Regions from separate parts of the Homo sapiens genome. Here region 1 is linked to region 2. The links are contacts of gene promoters, found by promoter capture Hi-C in human tissues and cell types (Jung and others, 2019). All regions are on one chromosome and are shown on one strand. The core of a region is centred on a gene start or on the middle of the fragment in contact, and the rest is flanking DNA. Distances in the headings are between cores, read along the strand shown.

Region 1 (3,384 bases), core at 370-2,869, 260 kb before region 2:
TAGAATCTTTCCCCAGTAATGGAGGAGGTGGCGGGAGGTCTTTGCATGAGCTTTAGGGCTTCTAGTACATGTTACATGGTTCCATAAGACTTCACTTACAAAACACAAATTCAAAACTAAATTAAGAATTGTAAGACGGCAACTTCAGCATTAAAACCCAAGCTTGAAGCCCTGTGTAGTAACATGCCCATGAAGCCAGCCTTGCTGATTATATTAAAAGATTCTTCTCCAATGGATGAAGGATACCCATTGCTTATATATTCCTGTTGTGTGATTTGTCTTGTGCAAAATGAAAGGCTCATTCACACTGATGACATTCGAAGTGTTTCTCTTTGCTGCAACTGCTCATTGATTACCTAAGGACAGAGAAATTGTCCCGTACTCATTGGTTACATTCATAAGATGTCTAATATAAATTGTCTCATGTGCCTAACAGATGAAAGATCAATACGTGCTTTTCCACATTCATAGGGATTCTCCCCATTATATACTCTTATGTGTGGTAAATGAAGGATTATATTGGAAGGATTTTTTGTACTGATTACATTCATAGGGCTTTTCACTAGTGTGGTTTCTCATGTTTTCTAAGGGATGAAGTAATACTAAAGGCTTTCCCACCATCTTTGCATTCTATTTTGTATTCTCTTGTACACTGTAAGGGAAAAGCTGTAATCAATATGTCCCCAGTTTGAGCTCCCCAGTTTGCGCTCTCGTGTACATCAAACGTGAGTGCTTCCTGAATATTTTTCCAGTATAATCATGACAGTTACAGGGTTTTTCCCCAGTGTGAATTCTCATGAACACAATGGGAGTAGAACTTACACTGAAAACTTTTCTGTATCAATCACATTTATAGAGATTCTCCTCAGTATTCTCTTCTCTCCTCTAAGGACAGATCTAATGCTAAAGACTTGAAAATGCTGCTTACTGTCATTGTGCTTTATTCTAATGTGAATTATAATATGTATCCAAAGGGATGAGTGATAACTGAAGGCCTTCTGCAGTCCTTACATTCATAAGGTTTATCTCCATTTTGTATTCACATGTACCTCAGAAATTAAGAGTTACTACTGAAACATTTTTCATATTAGTTATATGCAGAGCAGAAAATTCACCAGTTTGAATTTTCTTGTGTTGAATAAGGTTAGACCTTGCACTGATGATATTCATTGAGTGTTTCTCTAAGATGACTTATCTCCATTTTTGCACAATTGTGTTGACTTTTACATTTTACCTAAAAATGTCCTACTTAAGATTTGACCCTTTGATTTTTAAGTAGAACATACAAATACTTGGGAAATTTCATCTTCTGTCATCAACTCATCTTCTTTCTCTAACCAAGAGATCAAACGGAGTTTGCCCATATGATGCCTAAGTGATACCACGTTGGTAGTTCTCCTGTATCTCATTCCTGTGCAGGTTTCACTGAGATGAGTCCAGTAAAGCCCTCTTCATTGAAGGTCACTGAGTCCTGTGATTAGCTTGTCAGCAGCCAGGCAGCCAACACTCCCTTTCTTGCGTTTCCTGTTTGGTGACAGGGAGGGTCCTGAGCAGACCAAATGCTAGTTAAGGGCAGATAAACAACTGCCATCCTGTGAGTTTGACTGTAAATCTTGAAATTCAGAGCAGTGGGACTCAAACATACCCTCTTTTTGTTCTCACAGTCCATTTGGGGCAAGGATCTTAGACTTTTTAGGTGGCATCTTCCCACTGAACTGTGATTTTTCAGATGAAGACAGTACTCAAAAGTTGAAATTTAGTACAATTAATAATTTTTATTGCTTCATCAAAAATATTGAAAATTAAACTTGCTTTTTTTTCTCTTCTTCCCTGTGAGTGTGTGGTGATGAAGAATACAGTGATTTATGCTAGGAGGCCAGAATTTTGCCCACTGTTGGTTTTGTGCCATCAGTGTAAATGTCAACATAGGTGGGTAATGTCTTAGAATTATTATGAAAATAGTTTTGACTTTGTGGCATTTCCTCCAAAGTGTTTGGTTTCCTGACGAGTATAAGGACAGTATTCTGAGAATCGCTGCCCTAGAGAATTGTAAGGGCTTTTCTTTTGCTTTCTAATCTTTTTCATGCAGAGAAGGCATTAAGCTTTAGTGAATTATTCAGTATCTCCTTTTTTGTGTGTGTACAATCGCTTATCCAGTTGTTGGAAATATCGTATTCAAATTACAACCCATAGAAGAGATTTTACAAGCCGTGTAGACCAATTACTAGTCATTTTTAAATGTTCCTCGTATTTCTGGCCTCAATGCAATCATTTGAATCTTATATTTATTTGTCTGCTTCCAAGTTTTTTTTTCCATATCTTTTCCCAGTTATCTTACACAGTTTGATTATGTTGTCTGACTGTGGTTTTCTTTAAGTTGATACATTTGGGTTTTGCTGTACTTCATGGATCTGTCAGTTTATGCCTTTTACCAAATTAGGGAAGTTTTCAACCATTATTTATTAAAATACATATTTTCTTCTATTCCAATGTCTTTCTCCTCTCCTTCTGGAACTTTTGTAACACAAACATGTTTTTTAAAAAATAATATCTCAGAGGTCTCTGATTCTTTTTTTTTTTTTAATTATACTTTAAGTTCTGGAGTACATGTGCAGAACGTGCAGTTTTGTTACATAGGTATACACGTGCTATGGTGGTTTGCTGCACCCATCAACTCGTGACCTACATTAGGTATTTCTCCTAATATTATCCCTCCTCTAATCCCCAGTCCCCCGACAGGCCCCGGTATGTGATGTTCCCCTCTCTATGTCCACGTGTTCTCATTGTTCAACTCCCAGTTATGAGTGAGAACATGCGGTGTTTGGTTTTCTGTTCTTGTGATAGTTTGCTGAGAATGATGGTTTCCAGCTTCATCCATGTCCCTGCAAAGGACACGAACTCATCCTTTTTATGGCTGCATAGTATTCCATGGTATTATGTGCCATATTTTCTTTATCCAGTCTATTACTGATGGACATTTGGGTTGGTTCCAAGTCTTTGCTATTGTGAGTAGTGCTGCAATAAACATATGTGTGCATGTGTCTTTATAGTAGAATGATTTATAATCCTTTGGGTACATACCCAGTAATGGGATTGCTGGGTCAAATCTGATTCTAAAAGAATTATTTTTTTCACTTTTTTCTTCTGTTACTTATTTTTTAATTTTCTAATTTTTTGAGACAGGGTCTTGCTCTGTCTCCCAGGCTGGAGTGCAGTAGTTCGATCTCAGCTCTTGGCTCACTGCAATCTCCACCTCCCGGGTTCAAGTGATTCTCCTGCCTCAGCCTCCCAAGTAGCTGGGACTACAGGTGCGTGCCACCATGCCTGGCCAGTTTTTGTATTTTTAGTAGAGATGGGGTTTCACTGTGTTGGCCAGGCTGGTCT
Region 2 (3,372 bases), core at 491-2,990:
TCCATTAGGCAACCCCTTATTAGGAAAATTGCTACCAAGGAGCGGAGCGAGAGAGGCTTAATAACAGAAACCTGAGTCTCTAGGTAAGCTTTGTTTCAGACACTGTATTCTAGATTAAATGACCAAGAGATAGGGTAAGAGGAAAGGGGTGCTGGGCTAATGGGGTAAGGAGAAGGAGGATGGGGAAATAGAAAATAGAATAAGGATTCACCAGTAGTCAATTCCTTTAATATCCAGGATCTTCTTGGCACACATTATGTCATCAGTAATGTCATCATCCAGGAACTCTGGCAGGAGTTACAGGGAAAGGATTGAGACAGCTGACAAGTATTACCCAGAAAGGCACTGAGTTCCCCTAACCCCTGGATCCAGTGGGTTCTCTAAACTCAAGGCTTGTGCCTGTTGTCTTTCTATATGAAAGGACCAATGTGGTAATGTCTAACCCTGGGTAGGGACTTCCTTCATTTCCCTGGGATATCTCTGGAGGAATCATCAGCTTCATCAACTGACTTACCCTGAAAATGCAGACAATCAGATTCCAAGACTCTCAGACAGCTCCGATTGTCTACCACTGAACCTCAAGGAACTGTCTGGGGATTTGATGACCATGAAAAATCCAAACAGCTTCTTACTCAGTACTGCCAATTCAAGTCCCACAATTTTTATAGAGCCCAGCCAAGGCAATGAAGCCTGAGGTCTGCTTGGCACTAAAAAGGAGATTATCCCAAGGGCAGGCCTCAGAAAAACAGAGAAAGAGGGTTATAGGGGCTACTCACTGTCACAGGAGATGTCACAGATGTTCCTTGACTGAGGGACCTGGCTGCTCTTGCACCAAAGCTTATTACTGATCTGGAAGAGTCCATATTCCGTGCTTTCATTGTTTTCAACTATGGCTTGTGTGTCATAACCACTGGTGTGAAACATGGTACAGATCACTGAGGGAAAGATGAGAAAGAGATACCACAGAGATGTACAGGATCTGCATAAAGGAGGAACTGTAATTCTCAGACAAAAATGCTTTCCAGCCAATCTCCAAAGATGGCAAAGCTCAGAGTTTCTTGATGAGATGGAGAATTCCAAAAAAAAATCAGACAATAAGAGAAAGAAAGGATAGGAAAATAAATGGGGCCAGGCATGATGGCTCACGCTTGTAATCCCAACACTTTGGGAGGCTGAGGAGGGCGGATCACCTGAGGTCAGAAGTTTGAGACCAGCCTGGCCAACATGGTGAAACCCTGTCTCTACAAAAAATACAAAATTAGCCAGGCATGGTGGTGGGTGCCTGTAATTCCAGCTACTTGGGAGGCTGAGGCAGGAGAATCACTTGAACCGAGGAGGCGGAGGTTGCAGTGAGCCGAGATTACACCATTGCACTCCAGTCTGGGCAACAAGAGCGAAACTCCACCTCAAAAATAAATAAATACATACATATATACATACATGAAATAAAAGAGTATGCAAATGAGCAGAAAAGAGGATGATTAGATAATTAAGTAAAAGTGGAGGGGCGAAGTGGAAGAAAGAGGGGATGGAGGAGAGAAGCGTATGAGGAATGGATGAAACACAGAGGCAGGGAACTCACATTCAGGCAAAGCGATGCCTCCATAACCATCTATGTCTTTCAGCAGCTGGGACAGCTCACATTTTGTGAATTGCTTGGCCAGGATGGCAGGGAACAGGATGCCCACCAGGAACAGAGGGACAAAGAACCTCATTTTGGCTACCCCCAAGAACCTGAAATGGAAGCATCACTCAGTTTCATTTATTTATATTCATGCAGAAAGCCTCAGGGGCTCTGGTACCAAGCCCTACATCTAGGAAGAGAATGAAGAGAGACTGGTCATGCCAAGACAGAAACGCTGAGCCTGCCAGCTTCCTTCCATAATTCACCCTACTTTTCCTTTCCCTCTCCCAGTATCTAGTCCATAGCAGGTATTGTTCTCTGGCCAGAAAGAGTTCAAACCATGATCCTGCTTCCCATTTGGCTTTGTTTAGCCCTTTGTTTCTTGTAGGGTTGGTTCTGGGAAGCACTGTCTCTGGTTACTTGAGGAACAAAGAAGGGCATGGGGGCAATATAAGAAGTGAGGCAATCAGAAAATACAATAAAGTTCTATACCGAGCTTCCCCCTTCCCCCCTAGAGACATGCAGAATGTGGAGAGGGGGTGTATGTCATCACATGCCACAGTCCCAGGATCAGAGCTGGCACTTGTCCAACCAATCCAGCCATGTAACAAGGCCCAGAATTAGTTCTTTAATATGGTAGCTCATGACTGAAGGCTCAGAAATAGGAATAGAATATGGGAACGTAGACTACAACAATCCGATATAACTTGGATCTTAAGACTTCCTACTTAAGGAAAATGCATAATTGAAAAGCCTGTATGAAAGCATCTAGGCCAGGCACAGTGGCTCACACCTGTAATCCCGGCATTTTGGGAGGCCGAGTCTGGTGGATCACTTGAGCCCAGGAGCTCGAGACCAGCCTGGGCAACATGGTAAAATCCCATCTCTACAAAAAAAATTAGCTGGGCATGGTGACATGTGCCTGTAGTCCCAGCTACTTGAGGGGCTGAGGCAGGAGGAACACTTGAGCACAGGAGGTCGAGGCTGCAGTGAGCCATGTTCACTCCACTGCACTCCATCCATCCTGGGAGACAAAGTGAGACCCTATCTTTAAAAAAAAAAAAAAAAAAAAAGAATCTAGCTATCCTACGAGCTATTATCAGATTCCCCACCCCTAACCACTCCTACCGTAAATAACCAAATACTACACTGGCATTGAGACATTACATAAATCTAAGACCAATAACTTGTAGACAACCTCAGAGTTGGCCACAGAAAGTGGGAAGGACCCAAGCCAGTGGAAAGATTGGACTTTAAGGCTGAACAAGCTTATGTCTGGAATCTCTATAAGGTCAGTGCCCCTGAGCAAGTAGAGTTGAGGATACTAGTTCTGAATAGCTCCTTTAATTTGCTGGCATGAAGCTTCATGTCATGGTGACAAGTAGCTCTTAGCTCCTTCATGCCACCATTCGTCTTCTTTGTCCTCATCTCTAAACCTGATTTCTTCTTCTTCTTCCTTTTTTTTTTTTTTTTTTGACCAAGTCTCACTCTGTTGCCCAGGCTGGAATGCAGTGGCGCGATCTTGGCTCACTGCAACCTCTGCCTCCCAGGCTCAAGTGATTCTCCTGCCTCAGCCTCCCGAGTAGCTGGGACTACAGGCACGTGTTACCATGCCCGGTTAATTTATGTATTTTTAGTAGAGACGGAGTTTCTGCATGTTGGCCAGGCTGGTCTCAAACTTCTGAGCTCAGGCAATTTGCCTGCCTGGGCCTCGGCCTCCCAAAGTGCTAGGATTACAGACAGGAGCC

What was found. The method cuts DNA at HindIII sites, captures the fragments that hold promoters and counts their contacts. A contact is called where the count stands out against the background at its distance.
Region 1: a fragment that was not itself captured here is called in contact with the fragment with the promoter of LALBA in region 2 in 1 of the 25 tissues and cell types used here (aorta).

The regions. Positions count from the first base shown.
Region 1 is chr12:48,309,986-48,313,369 of GRCh38, forward strand. No RefSeq gene overlaps it. Among named protein-coding and RNA genes, the nearest start is that of H1-7, 17 kb to the right of the region's middle. The HindIII fragment of the contact is 3,871 bases long and covers 1-3,384 here.
Region 2 is chr12:48,568,306-48,571,677 of GRCh38, forward strand. It overlaps LALBA (lactalbumin alpha), which reads right to left and starts at 1,741. Exons shown (of 4, transcript NM_002289.3): 1 at 1,583-1,741; 2 at 777-935; 3 at 212-287. The coding sequence starts at 1,715. The HindIII fragment of the contact is 2,890 bases long and covers 463-3,352 here.